Regions from separate parts of the Homo sapiens genome. Here all the other regions are linked to region 3. The links are contacts of gene promoters, found by promoter capture Hi-C in blood cells and fetal thymus (Javierre and others, 2016). All regions are on one chromosome and are shown on one strand. The core of a region is centred on a gene start or on the middle of the fragment in contact, and the rest is flanking DNA. Distances in the headings are between cores, read along the strand shown.

The links. The method cuts DNA at HindIII sites, captures the fragments that hold promoters and counts their contacts. A CHiCAGO score of 5 or more calls a contact.
Region 1: a contact is called between a fragment that was not itself captured here and the fragment with the promoter of TSR1 in region 3, in 1 of 17 cell types (fetal thymus). The highest score is 5.1, in fetal thymus.
Region 2: the fragment with the promoter of PRPF8 here is called in contact with the fragment with the promoter of TSR1 in region 3 in 13 of 17 cell types (total CD4 T cells, fetal thymus, naive CD8 T cells and 10 more); the score reaches 14.0 in total CD4 T cells.

Annotation. Positions count from the first base shown.
Region 1 is chr17:1,657,614-1,661,658 of GRCh38, forward strand. PRPF8 (pre-mRNA processing factor 8) reads right to left here. Exons shown (of 43, transcript NM_006445.4): 26 at 3,998-4,045; 27 at 3,658-3,793; 28 at 3,380-3,549; 29 at 3,085-3,214; 30 at 2,819-2,965; 31 at 2,228-2,388; 32 at 1,744-1,935; 33 at 913-1,150; 34 at 640-768. Among named protein-coding and RNA genes, the nearest start is that of RILP, 9.8 kb to the left of the region's middle. The HindIII fragment of the contact is 1,619 bases long and covers 1,956-3,574 here.
Region 2 is chr17:1,683,402-1,687,138 of GRCh38, forward strand. It overlaps PRPF8 (pre-mRNA processing factor 8), which reads right to left and starts at 1,466. Exons shown (of 43, transcript NM_006445.4): 1 at 1,379-1,466; 2 at 1,071-1,181; 3 at 132-300. The coding sequence starts at 1,170. The HindIII fragment of the contact is 11,873 bases long and covers 1-3,737 here.
Region 3 is chr17:2,334,139-2,338,135 of GRCh38, forward strand. It overlaps TSR1 (TSR1 ribosome maturation factor), which reads right to left and starts at 2,319. Exons shown (of 15, transcript NM_018128.5): 1 at 2,193-2,319; 2 at 1,899-2,002; 3 at 1,373-1,592; 4 at 1,122-1,256; 5 at 334-758. The coding sequence starts at 2,289. SGSM2 (small G protein signaling modulator 2) reads left to right here and starts at 3,363. Exons shown (of 24, transcript NM_014853.3): 1 at 3,363-3,607. The coding sequence starts at 3,551. RefSeq lists an enhancer at 2,487-2,596 and silencers at 2,827-2,956, 2,987-3,296, 3,397-3,506, 3,607-3,706, 3,737-3,997. The HindIII fragment of the contact is 5,731 bases long and covers 1-3,997 here.

The DNA of each region.
Region 1 (4,045 bases), core at 1,515-4,014, 680 kb before region 3:
CCAGCCTGGGCAACAGAGCAAGACTCCGTCTCAAAAAAAAAAAAAAAAAAAGAGAATATGCATTGCTGGCCAGGAGCAGTGGCTCACACCTGTAATCCGAGCACTTTGGGAGGCAGAGGCAGAGGCAGGCAGATCACAAAGTCAGGAGATCGAGACCATCCTGGCTAACACGTTGAAACCCTGTCTCTACTAAAAAATACAAAAAAAATTAGCCAGGCGTGGTGGCGGGCGCCTGTAGTCCCAGCTACTCGGGAGGCTAAGGCAGGAGAATGGCGTGAACCCGGGAGGCGGAGCTTGCAGTGAACCGAGATTGAGCCACTGTGCTCCAGCCTGGGCCACACAGCGAGACTCCGGCTAAAAAAAAAAAAAAAAAAAAAGAGTATGCGTTGCCTTTGGAAAAATGATTTTTGATAGCCCTGTTCAAGGTTAGAAATTCAGGAAACAGACCAGCTGGAAGGGAACGAAGCACCTCATACACTCTTGGACCTCCCACAGAATACTTCCCAAGGTATTTTGGGGATAAGTTCAAATGAGATGTTCTCAGCCTTTCATCTAATAAACCAGTAAATATTACCAAGTCCACCCCAAGAATAAGAGGCAACATGGTTCTACAGCCTCTTCATCTTTAAACCTGCTCACCTGCCCCAAACGCTTCTGTCCCGCCCACACGGACGTGTGGATTATCTTGAGGAACAGCTGCCCTGTGCGTGGGTTGAAGATGAAGATGGCTCCGTTGATGGGCTTGGTTGTCAAGTTCCCTTCAAAGGTCTAGAGGAGGACGGCATTCGTTAGCATGGCCTACACAACACATCCCCATCCTGCCTTCTTCCCAGCATGTGTACACACTTAGCCCATTACTCTCCCACAGCCATGTACAGAGTCCCGCACCTATACACTGCTGCTAACACTCACCTTGTGAATAGTCACTCTGTAGACGTTGGTGTCATCCACAAACCAGATAATCTGGTTGGAGAAGAGCTCACCATAGTTCTGAGAAGACAAATAAGGCTCAGTGGGTTCAGATGAATAGAGCTGTAGCCCCTTGCGGATCCGTTCACGTAACACATACAGGGCAGGGTTTGCCTTCATGATCTTGGCCATGGCCTGTTGTATGAGAGGCTTGCTGCCTGGGAACCAGTTTCCATAGGCACTGTGAGGATAAAAGGGTCAAGAAAAGTTAAGACGAGAATGACAGCCCCAGAAACAAGACAAGCTGCCAACTCTACAGAGGAAGAAAGACTGTTCGCCAGGCTGACAACACTCTGCTCATGTGTACATACAGGCTGGAGAAGAGAATCAGTGACCCATAGGAGGAATGGGCCACTTCCTCTCACTTAGGTAAAGTAAAAAAGTATGACTACGTTAAAGTATGGAGCTAATGGAAAATACACGGATTATTTATTTATTTATTATTATTATTATTTTTCTTTGAGATGGAGTCTCACTCTGTCGCCCAGGCTGGAGTGCAGTGGCGCAATCTCGGTTCACTGCAAGCTCCGCCTCCCGGGTTCAAGTAATTCTCCCACCTCAACCTTCTGAGTAGCTGGGACTACAGGCGTGGACCACCACGCCCAGCTAATTTTTTGTATTTTGGTAGAGACAGGGTTTCACCATGTTGCCCAGACTGGTCTCAAACTCCTGAGCTCAGACAATCTGCCCACCGCGGCCTCCCAAAGTGCTGGGATTACAGGTGTGAGCCACTGCGCCTGGCCTGAAAATACATGGTCCTGAGCCTCAACTCACCTGTGCAAGTTATAGGCCAGGTCAATGGCGATGAGTACACCTGTGGGCGAAGGGTAGATACTCATGTTGTCGGTGGTGTAGTCCAGGAACTTGGCCCGGGCGTAGCGCTCAATGTCGTGGGAATCATAGTCCCCCCAGCGCAACTGGATGTCAATCCAGTATTTCTGGGTGGTGGTGCTGTCCATCACATCCCTGAGGATGAAGAGGGTTCAAGCTTCTAAGAAACCATGGGCATAACCAATGTCCCCAGAACCAGAACCACTTAAATCCCAAAACCATCCCACCCACTCCACCAACTTGTTCCAGGTCAGCAGGACCCCAGAGAATCAGCAGATCTGACTAAGGGTGTTGACAGGCTCCAAGCGTAGCACTGGCTCCAAGTTTGAAACAAAGGCAGACAGGACAATTCCTAAAGTTGCAGGGCTAGAAGAACAGGAAAACGAAAGTGTCCTGGCTGCCTAGGGCTGGGTCCTGAGGCACTTACTTGGAGTCAGCCAGCAATGAGGGCCGGGAGACATTCCACTTATAGGAGGCAAAGAGCAGGATATCTGCACAGGAAGAGTTCATCTTATATGACTTTCGGGGATGGATTGTCTCCTTTTGTACTGTCTCAATTTCCAGTGCATCAAGTTCCTGGTCAAACACCTGAAGGAAAACATGGAGAGATTAAGACTTGTTAAGGAAGCCCAATTAAAATCAGAGTTTGTACAATAAGATAATGAGGCAATAGGAGTCTCATCCTCAGAGCTTCCAGGGTGGATTTCCCATATGCAAAAGAGCAAGCTGAGCTGACTCTGTACAGCACGCTCTCCCCGCGATTCCACCTGAGCTGACTCTGTACAGCACCCTCTCCCCGCGATTCCACCTAAGCTGACTCTGTACAGCACCCTCTCCCTGCGATTCCACCTGAGCTGACTCTCTACAGTACCCTCTCCCCACGATTCCACCTGAGCTGACTCTGTACAGTACCCTCTCCCCTCGATTCCACCTGAGCTGACTCTGTACAGTACCCTCTCCCCTCAATTCCACCTGAGCTGACTCTCTACAGTACCCTCTCCCCTCGATTCCAGCCCACCTGACATAAGTCCATAACAATGCTCTCATGGATCTTCTGCCACAAGTGAGCTCGGAAGATCTGGATGAGAGAGATCTTCAGCGTGGGGATCTTGCCGTGCATGAAGATACCCGTCAGGTCTAGCTGCACCTGAAAGCCTACATATACCTGCCAGGAAAACGACAATGTGACATTAGAGATCAAGAGACTCGGGCGCTCACGACATAACCAAGGCAAGAAGCAGCAACTGTCTTTAGCTTCCCCTCTCCAGTGTCAATCACACTCACATTGGCTCGATTAATGGTCGGGGACCACCAGAGGGTGAATCTACGATTGGGAATCTGGTTCAGTCCTGATCGCTGAGCATTAGTTAGCTTCTTCCACTTCATAGATTCCTCAAAGCCACTGGCCTTCTCCCTGGGGAGCAAGAGAAGCAGGTGAGGTGATATCCTGCCATTTCCCAGCACACTGCTAACCTCCTGGAGGTGGCTGTCTGGGAAACACCACAGGAAATCACAGAGGCATACAAGAGATGAGCTCAAAGGGTTGTGACAGGTCCCTCTAAGAGAGGAGAATCCTCACCAGAAAAGCCCCTCCCAGGTAGGGAAGTAAGTGCCCTTAAAGAGTGTGTGTTCCAGAATGCCTTCCACACCGCCCAGGGCCTGGATCATGTCTGTACGGTAGTTGTTCAGGTTCCAGAGCTTCCCATCATGCCGCTGGTGTGTCCACCAGAACGGATTCTGCTTCAAAACCTAGATGGCAAGGCAGGCACGGTCAAGCTTCTGGGTGCCTATTGCCCCAAGTTTCGGGGATAGCCATGGATTTTCCTGACTCAGGGAAAATCTGCTCCCTCTACATACCTGATACTGCTTAAAGTCAGTTCTGACACGCCAGCCCTTATCATAAGCCAGTGTGTGCCGGTCCTTCTGGAAGAGGGTATTGATTCGAGGAATGCCACGATCCCATGAATCTTCTAGGTCTTCTAAAGTCAGGCGTCTTCCAAAAAAAGAAAGATTCAAGTCAAAACGTGATCTCATATGAGGAGCTCAGCACTCCTTCCTGGCCAAAAATAATTAGGGTCAGTAGAACCAGCCTTCTCACCTCCATACAACCATGGCATGCTCTGACCCTGAACTCCACACGGTTCAAAGGCCACCACTGCCCCTGCCCCAGGGTTGGCATGCCCTCCTAGGTGCCCACCTGTTCTGAGCAATGGCCTCTTGCCTCTTGAGTGCGTACTCAGCCCAG
Region 2 (3,737 bases), core at 216-2,715, 650 kb before region 3:
ACTCCTACTGGTTTTCTCCTTTCTCTTATATCCACCAAGATGAGCTGTCAAAGCATCAATCCAAGACTGTGGGACAGGGAGAAGGGAAAAGGGCCAAATTCCAAATGAAATTATTTCAGGATGTTCCTTACCCCAAGTAAACCCTTTTGTCATGGCGGAACTTCCTGTTGGTCATGTCTCCATGGTCTCGAATGATCTTCCTGACATGTTCTGGGGGCATGTCTTCCTTCTGGGCATCCACAAACCCAAACTTCCGCTTTTCTGCATAGCGCTTGGCCTGCAATTGCTGCCATTTTCGAGCTGGAAAGGCACCTCAGTTTAAAGGCCTGCACACCCTCCCCCTAATCCTCTTCACCTCTTGCCCTAGGGTAAGCTCCTGTCAGTGAGTGTGAGGGAGAAGCAGGCACCAGCAGGAAGAAGCACCCCTTGCCAATTCCCTTACCATTTTACTCTGTTTTTCCTTTCATCACATTGATCACTATCTGACTTTTTTTTTTTTTTTTGAGAGGTTGTTTCACTCTGTCTCCCAGGCTGGAGTGCAATGGTGCGATGTCGGCTCACTGCAACCTCCGCCTCCTGGGTTCAAGCCATTCTCCTGCCTCAGCCTCCCCAGTAGCTGGGATTATAGACACGCGCCACCACACACGACTCATTTTTGTATTTTTCGTAGAGACGAGGTTTCACTGTGTTGGCCAGGCTGGTCTCGAACTCCTGACCTCAGGTGATCCGCCCGCCTGGGCCTCCCAAAGTGCTGGGATTACAACCGTGAGCCACCGCGCCCGGCCTGACATTTTTATTACAGAGCTTCAAGGTTTTGTTATTCTCTGTCTCTCCCGCTGTAATTTAAACCCCGTAAGGACAGGAATTTTGTCTCCGTCACTACTGTACCCCCGCTGGATCAGCGCTTGCAAATAATACGCGCTTAAAATGACTTGATGAAAAATTAACTGGAAATAACAAGGGAGCTGACACCTCAGGAGCTGCCCAAACGGGGAGGGTCCCCACCCGCCTGCGCGCGCGCACACCCGCCCCGCCTCCGGCCCGCGCGCCGCTCCACACTCTCGCCTCACCTTTCTCCTGCAGCTTCTCCTCCGACATGTAGTCCGGTAGCGGGGCTAGAGGGCCAGGCACCGGGTTACCCGGCCCTCGATAAGGAAACACTCCGGCCATATCCGGAGAATCTGGGGAGCGGCGGGATAGAAAAATTCACTAACCACAGGCCCGGGCCCACAAGAAGCGCAGCAGAAAGGCGTCCGGGGACCCCGGCCTGCAGTCCCGCCACACAGTGCATCCAGCCCCGCCCGGCCTAACCCCTTCGGTCACTCGGCCCGACCCGACCACGCCTCCCGCAGCCCGGCCTTAAACGCCTGCCACGCACCCCACAGGCCCTCACACAAGAGGCCGCTTTCCCCGCAGCGCAATGGCGGCCAGACTGCGTCCGCTCCGCGTTCCCAGCGCCGGGAAGTGCGCAACCCGAGTTCAGCAGTTGATCCAGTCGGCGCCGAGGTGCTCAGATGGATTAGTGAGACGACCAATTAGAGTTGCACACTGCGCCGAGGAGGCGGGCCCATAGGCGGAAAGGCTTTGAACGCAAGGGGGTGTGGTCGGGGTGAAGCCCCGCCTCCTCCATTTCCGAGGCTGTTTCTGGGGCCTCTGACAGACCTCAGCGTGTGATGGGCTCCCGGCGTCGCACTGTGAGAGAGCGAAGTCTAAAGGGTTTGAATAAATTTGCCAAGATTGCGCATTGTACGATGTCTGTTGTCATCAATGTGTACATGCAATGCAGTACTAGCTCCTGGACAGTCATTTGTTCATGCATTCATTCATTTAACCATCACTGTCTACCGAGGACGAGGGATAAAGCAGGAAAAAAGACAACCAGTAGAGTTCACAGGGGAGCAGAAAGGCAGGCAAGAATTAAGACCTTGGCCGGGCGCGGTGGCTCACGCCTGGAATCGCAGCACTTTGGGAGGCCGAGGCAGGCGGATCACTTAAAGCCAGAAGTTCGAGGCCAGCCTGGCCAACATGGTGAAACCCCGTCTCTACTAAAAATACAAACATTAGCCGGGCGTGGTGGCGGGCGCCTGTAGTCCCAGCTACTCGGGAGGCTGAGGCAGGAGAATCGCTTGACCCGGGAGGGGGAGGTTGCAGTGAGCCAAGATCGCGCCACTGCACTCCAGCCTGGGTGACAGAGCGAGACTCTGTCTCGGGGGAAAAAAAAAAGTCTGAAATTCTGTGGAGGGTGCAGAGGAATTGTAACCCATACAGCCCCTGAATCTAGTTGAGAATTTACAAATCAAAGTGAAATAATTAGAAAAAAATTCAAAGGATGTCAATGTGCTTTCAGAACGGTAAAAATTTAAAAAATATTCCTTTTGTTTTTTTGAGACAGGGTCTCACTCTGTTGCCCAGACTGGAGTGCAATGGCGCGATCTCAATTCATCACAACCTCCACCTCCCAGGATCAAGCAATTCTCCTGCCTCAGTCTCCAGAGTAGCTGGATTACAGGCACGCGCCACTACTGCCGGCTAAGTTTTGGATTTTTAGTAGAGACAGGGTTTCACTATGTTGGCCAGGCTGGTCTCAAACTCCTGACCTTACGAAATCCTCCTGCCTCGGCCCTCCCAAAGTGCTGGGATTACAGGCGTGAGCCCCCATGCCCGGCCTGAAATCTATTTTTTAATGCTGGGTGTTCTAAAGGTCCCTACAGTCAAAAAAGACAGAGGAGAATTGTTAAAGATTTGATGGAGATGGATGGATGTGAGGATTTCATAAAGGTAAATGGAGAGGAAGGAAAAAGGTAATCCCAAGTGGTAGAACTACTAGAAAGAGTTAAGAAAGAAGCCGGGCACCGTGACTCATACCTGTAATCCTAGCACGTTGGGAGGCAGCGGCGAGAGGATTGGTTAAACTCATGAGTTTAAGACTAGCCTGGGCAACATACTGAGACCCTCATCTCTACAAATAATAAAAATATTAACCAGGCATAGTGGTACATGCCTGTAGTCCCAGCTACTCGGGAGGCTGAGGTGGGAGGATCATGATGGCACCACTGCACTCCAGCCTGGGTGACAGAGCGAGGCTGGTTTCATAGAAAAAAAGTGGGGGTTTTGGTTTGTTTTTTGTTTTTTGAGGCAGAGTCTCACTCTGTTGCCAGGCTGGAGTGCAGTGTCACAATCTCGGCTCACTGCAACCTCTGCCTCCAGGATTCAAGCGATTCTCCTGCCTCAGCCTCCTGAGTAGCTGGGGTTACAGGCATGTGCCACCACACCCGGCTAATTTTGTATTTTTCGTAGAGATGGCGTTTCTCCATGTTTGTCAGGCTGGTCTCGAACTACTGAGCTCAAGTAATCTGCCTACCTCAGCCTCGCAAATTGCTGGGATTTCAGGCGTGAGCCACCGTGCCAGGCCAAAAAAGGTTTAGATATAGAAACTAACATGGCATGCTCTGAAAATAGGCACCATATCAATCTGGCTGTGCTAGAAAGTCCAACATCATCATTATCATCTTCATCATCATCATCGTCATGGTAGTGAAGTCCTTTCACCTGTGTAAGGTTCACTACGTGCCAGACATTGCTCTAAGCCCTGGTGAAATCCTACTATGGTCTGTAGTTTCATTAAGAGTATTGTGGCCGGGCGCGGTGGTTCACGCCTGTAATCCCAGCACTTTGGGAGGCCGAGGCTGGCGGATCACAAGGTCAGGAGATCGAGACCATCCTGGCTAACACGGTGA
Region 3 (3,997 bases), core at 1,069-3,568:
TTTCTCAACTTCCACTGCTGGTCCGCACTCTAACCATATGCTATCTCAATCTTTATTTCACACATGCCATTTTGTTCCAGCCCAATTAAGTCCCTTGAGGAAAGCAACCACATCTTGAGTGTGTTCTATAAACTCAGAGCCAATCACAGTGCAGACTACCTAGAAAGTGCTGGATAAATATGTGATTTATCAACCTATTTATAACTGACTATTGCCTTACTTCAGACTAGCAGTCTCCTCATTCACCTAAGTGTACAGACTATCTTCTCTGAATTTAAGTTTCCTTCCTGTGCCAACTTTCATATGAACATGAATTAAGAATATCAGTCTTACCTCCATTGCCATGTCTGGGTCCTTTTGGGGTTTAATTCCTCTAGGATTTAAAGGGAAAGGGTCTCCGGGGGCATCTATCTGTTTCATCTGGAAATCACCATATCCAACGATATGCAGCAACCTATTGACATTCAGAGTCTGCCCTCGAACATAGCCTGAAATTTTCAAGGTGCCCACCAAGTTATTCTCTTCACTAGGAACAAAATCAACAGCATGGGCAAATAGGTAGGCCCGCCGATCTCGAAAAGCAAGATGCTGTTGCTTCTGGTTAGCCAACTGCCTAAGCAGCATCCCTGCCTCCTGTTGAGTGTCTAACAAGAGGAGTTTGTCATGCGGAAAGCGCTTCTCCACTGCTTTACTTAGCTTCTTCCTGGTATCTATTTGTTTCTTCAGTGGGAGGCCAGAAATCCCCTGGACAGCTAGTGCTGTAAGCGAAAGAGAAAACGCTTCATGACCTACTGCTTCATTACATAAAAATCCCTCTGCAGTTCACAAACAACCTAATAGCTCAGTTGCAAGCCCAGAGATCACTGGGAAGCCCAACACTGAACTACCCTGAAGGAATTTCACAGTGAAATCAAACTTCATATCCTTGTTTCTCTGGGCAAAGGACAGCCAAAAACAAAAAGACACCCTGAGTGATAATCTGTAAACAATGGATCAAGTTTAATCCATATGTGTACATCCCACCACCAGCTGAATATGATCCATCAGTTGTATTCCTGTATCAAATACCAGGCATAGTGCCTGACAAATTAAAGGTGCACAATAAATGCTAACTCACTTACTATAGGTCGGAAGGCCCTGAGCAAAGAGGCAGGAAAGACAGTAATCACCGGTGCTGTCCCAGCCTTCTAGTGGATCAAGGAGGAACAGGATGGTATCAGCTACTTTAGCCATGTCTAACACAACGTGCAGATCCCCTGCAGATAGAAGACACAGTAAGAAGAGGTGGTTGGCACCAGCACATTATTCTAAAAAAAAAAAAAAAAAATACCACTACTCAAACATAATACAAAATATTGGTGTATACTCTAACCTGGCCTTGCTGAGGTGAAAAACCACCGATGTTTCAAGCGGGGGCACAGCAGCATAAAGTTCTGGGTGTTTCCCAATTCATTCAAGTGTACTGTTCCAGTGTCCCTATCTTGAAGCAGCTGCATGGCCTCTGGCAGGGAAATTCTGCTGTGCAGGGGCACCACCAGTACCTGATGAGGAGGGCCATCCTTGCCACCCAGCTGTCTCTTCTCTGCCAGAACCTGAAAATAGAAAGATATCCGAGAACATCTCAGTGTCTCAGTACTTCACTCCAGCATTGCATTTCCACTCCCACAGATGCTCCCCCTACCCAAAACCAGCATCTCTCTAGTAAAAGACCACAGGTATGCCAGCGGGGTGGCAGGAATTCTGACCAAAGCAAAGAATGCTAGACCTGCACGCTCGACACGTGCTCTAGGGCTATGCTCTGTCCCTGGACCCTCCTCCCGGTCTCATTTTCCACTTCGAGGCATTAGCCACCTAGAACACCAGAGAAGCCGCATTCTCCCAAATCCCGCTCCTCTCACCGCCTCCTTCTTCTGCTTTCGGAGCTGGCTGGCGCGATGCCTCTGGTCGACTCTGCTGAGTTCTTTTCTCACCTTCTTGCTTAGGGTTTTCAGTGCCAGACGGCCTGAATGGCAGATTAGAAGGGGCTGGTGTGATCGGCCCCACAAGGTCAAGAAAAGGGACTCCTCTCCGCCCACCTTAGAAAGGGCCTTTCGCGTGGAGCCCAGACGGGAGACAGAAGCTCAGTCTGGGCATGAGGAAAAAGAGTTAATAACGGCCAAATAGCCCTTATTCCTTCTACGTTATCTCCTTACCCTTGCCGTCCCGCTGTGCAGATCCCCGACCCCGATGCCGTCCGCCTTTATGAGCTTTATTCTGCTGCTTGAGCGGGCCGGGGCGGTGGGCCGCCATGCCGCAGCGCGCGTGTACGGAGTCAGCACTGCTTCCGGGCCAGGACAAGCGCTTCCGGTCCCCTCCAAGGGGGCGGGCCCTCCAGGGAGCGGGACTCCCTGCGCCCTCTCGCGAAGGTCTTTTCCAGCAGCTCGTGAGAGCGCCGTGTTAGCGGGTTCGCCAAGCCGCGCTGGGAACTTTTCCCACTTCGCAGTGTGTGGTTGGGGGCTTGAAGGCGCCGGATGTAGACTGTCGAGGCTCGGGCTGTTGGTCTAGCAGGGCTGTTTGTACCCCTTGCATTGTCATTTTTTTGCGCTATAAAGCTGCATCACGTAGAAGCATGTTGACTGGAAGGCTCCATTCGTGCCGAAAAGGCCTAAGCCCTTCCTGTCACCTAGATTCGGGCACGTTGCTCTTCCGTTTGCAACGGCATGTTCTTTATCACTCTGAGCAACCTTTCTTCTCCCTCGATTCCCTAGCGAGGCTTGGGAATCGCGTGGAAGACACTTCTCTCACCTTGCCCGGTTCCGTACCAGCTCAAGCCCGTCCCTGTTACTCCAACCTGCGCCCCGCCTCCCACGGAGCGGCCGGGAAGGACCTTGTGGGACGTGGCGACCCGGCAAGGGGGACTGGCCGCGACCCTCCGGCCGTCGGGCTCGGGCGGCTGCGCTCCCACTAATCTTCCCAGAAACTTGACAACTGCACGGCGACGGCCGGACGGGGATTCAGAGGGGTCACGGGGCCAGGCTGCACCGGCTTCGCCGTGGGCAGGCTCGGACCGCAGGGGACCCCATGCCCGAGCCCCGGCCCTTTCCGTCCCGTCGGGAGAGGGAGCAGGCAGAAGTCAGGGGAGCTTCAGCGGGACCGAGGCTCGCTCTCAGCCGCGGGGCCGCGGGCTCCAGGGCCAGCGCTCACAATGCGGCTTCGCGCCCTCCATGCGGGAGCGGGTGCGTTGCCATGACAGCGACCCCCGTGGCGCGCGCCCGGGTCTGCCGCCCCTAGGCGCGCACGGCCTCTCCCCGCCCCGATCCCCCGTCGCTGTGCGCAACCCCCCTCCGGCTGTGGGAAGGGGCCGGGCCTGCCGCCTGACGTCTGTGCGGGGCTCGGAAGATGGCTGCGGAGCCGAGCACCGGGCAGTGGCTGCGGCGGCGGCGGCGGCGGCGGGCCGGGAGCGCGGCGGGCGGGGGCTCCGCCTTGCGCGTGGGGCGCTGAGCCGAGAGGCGCGGAGGCGGCGAGGGCGCGGGGGCTCTGAGGACCGCTCGGCGCCGCCTCCTGCCACACCATGGGCAGCGCAGAGGACGCAGTCAAAGAGAAACTGCTGTGGAACGTGAAGAAGGAGGTAAAGTCGAGTCAAGAACCCCGGGGGGCTCGCGCCCTGGCCCGCGCGGCCCAGGGGGCAGAAAGGTCCGCGCCCACCCCCCGGCGCGGGCACCCGGGCCGAACCTGGGCCGGGCGGGGCGGGTCCTGGACGGGCTGCGCCTCCTTCCCCTTTCTCGGATGGGGGAGGGCAGCGCCCCTCTGCCCGGGGGACCCGGCCGGCGCTCCCGGCTTGTTTGCTTCGCAGCCCCGCAGCTCCCCGCCCAGTGACGGCAGCGGCGCTGGGAGCCCAAGGCCGGGGGAGGGGTGGCGGCGATGGCGGGGATGGCTGGATCCGGAGCTGCCCATTCAGTGCCCGCGCCGCCAGGGGAGGGGGCGGGGCCCCGCGCGAGCTCCCGCGGCGCAGGTGGGT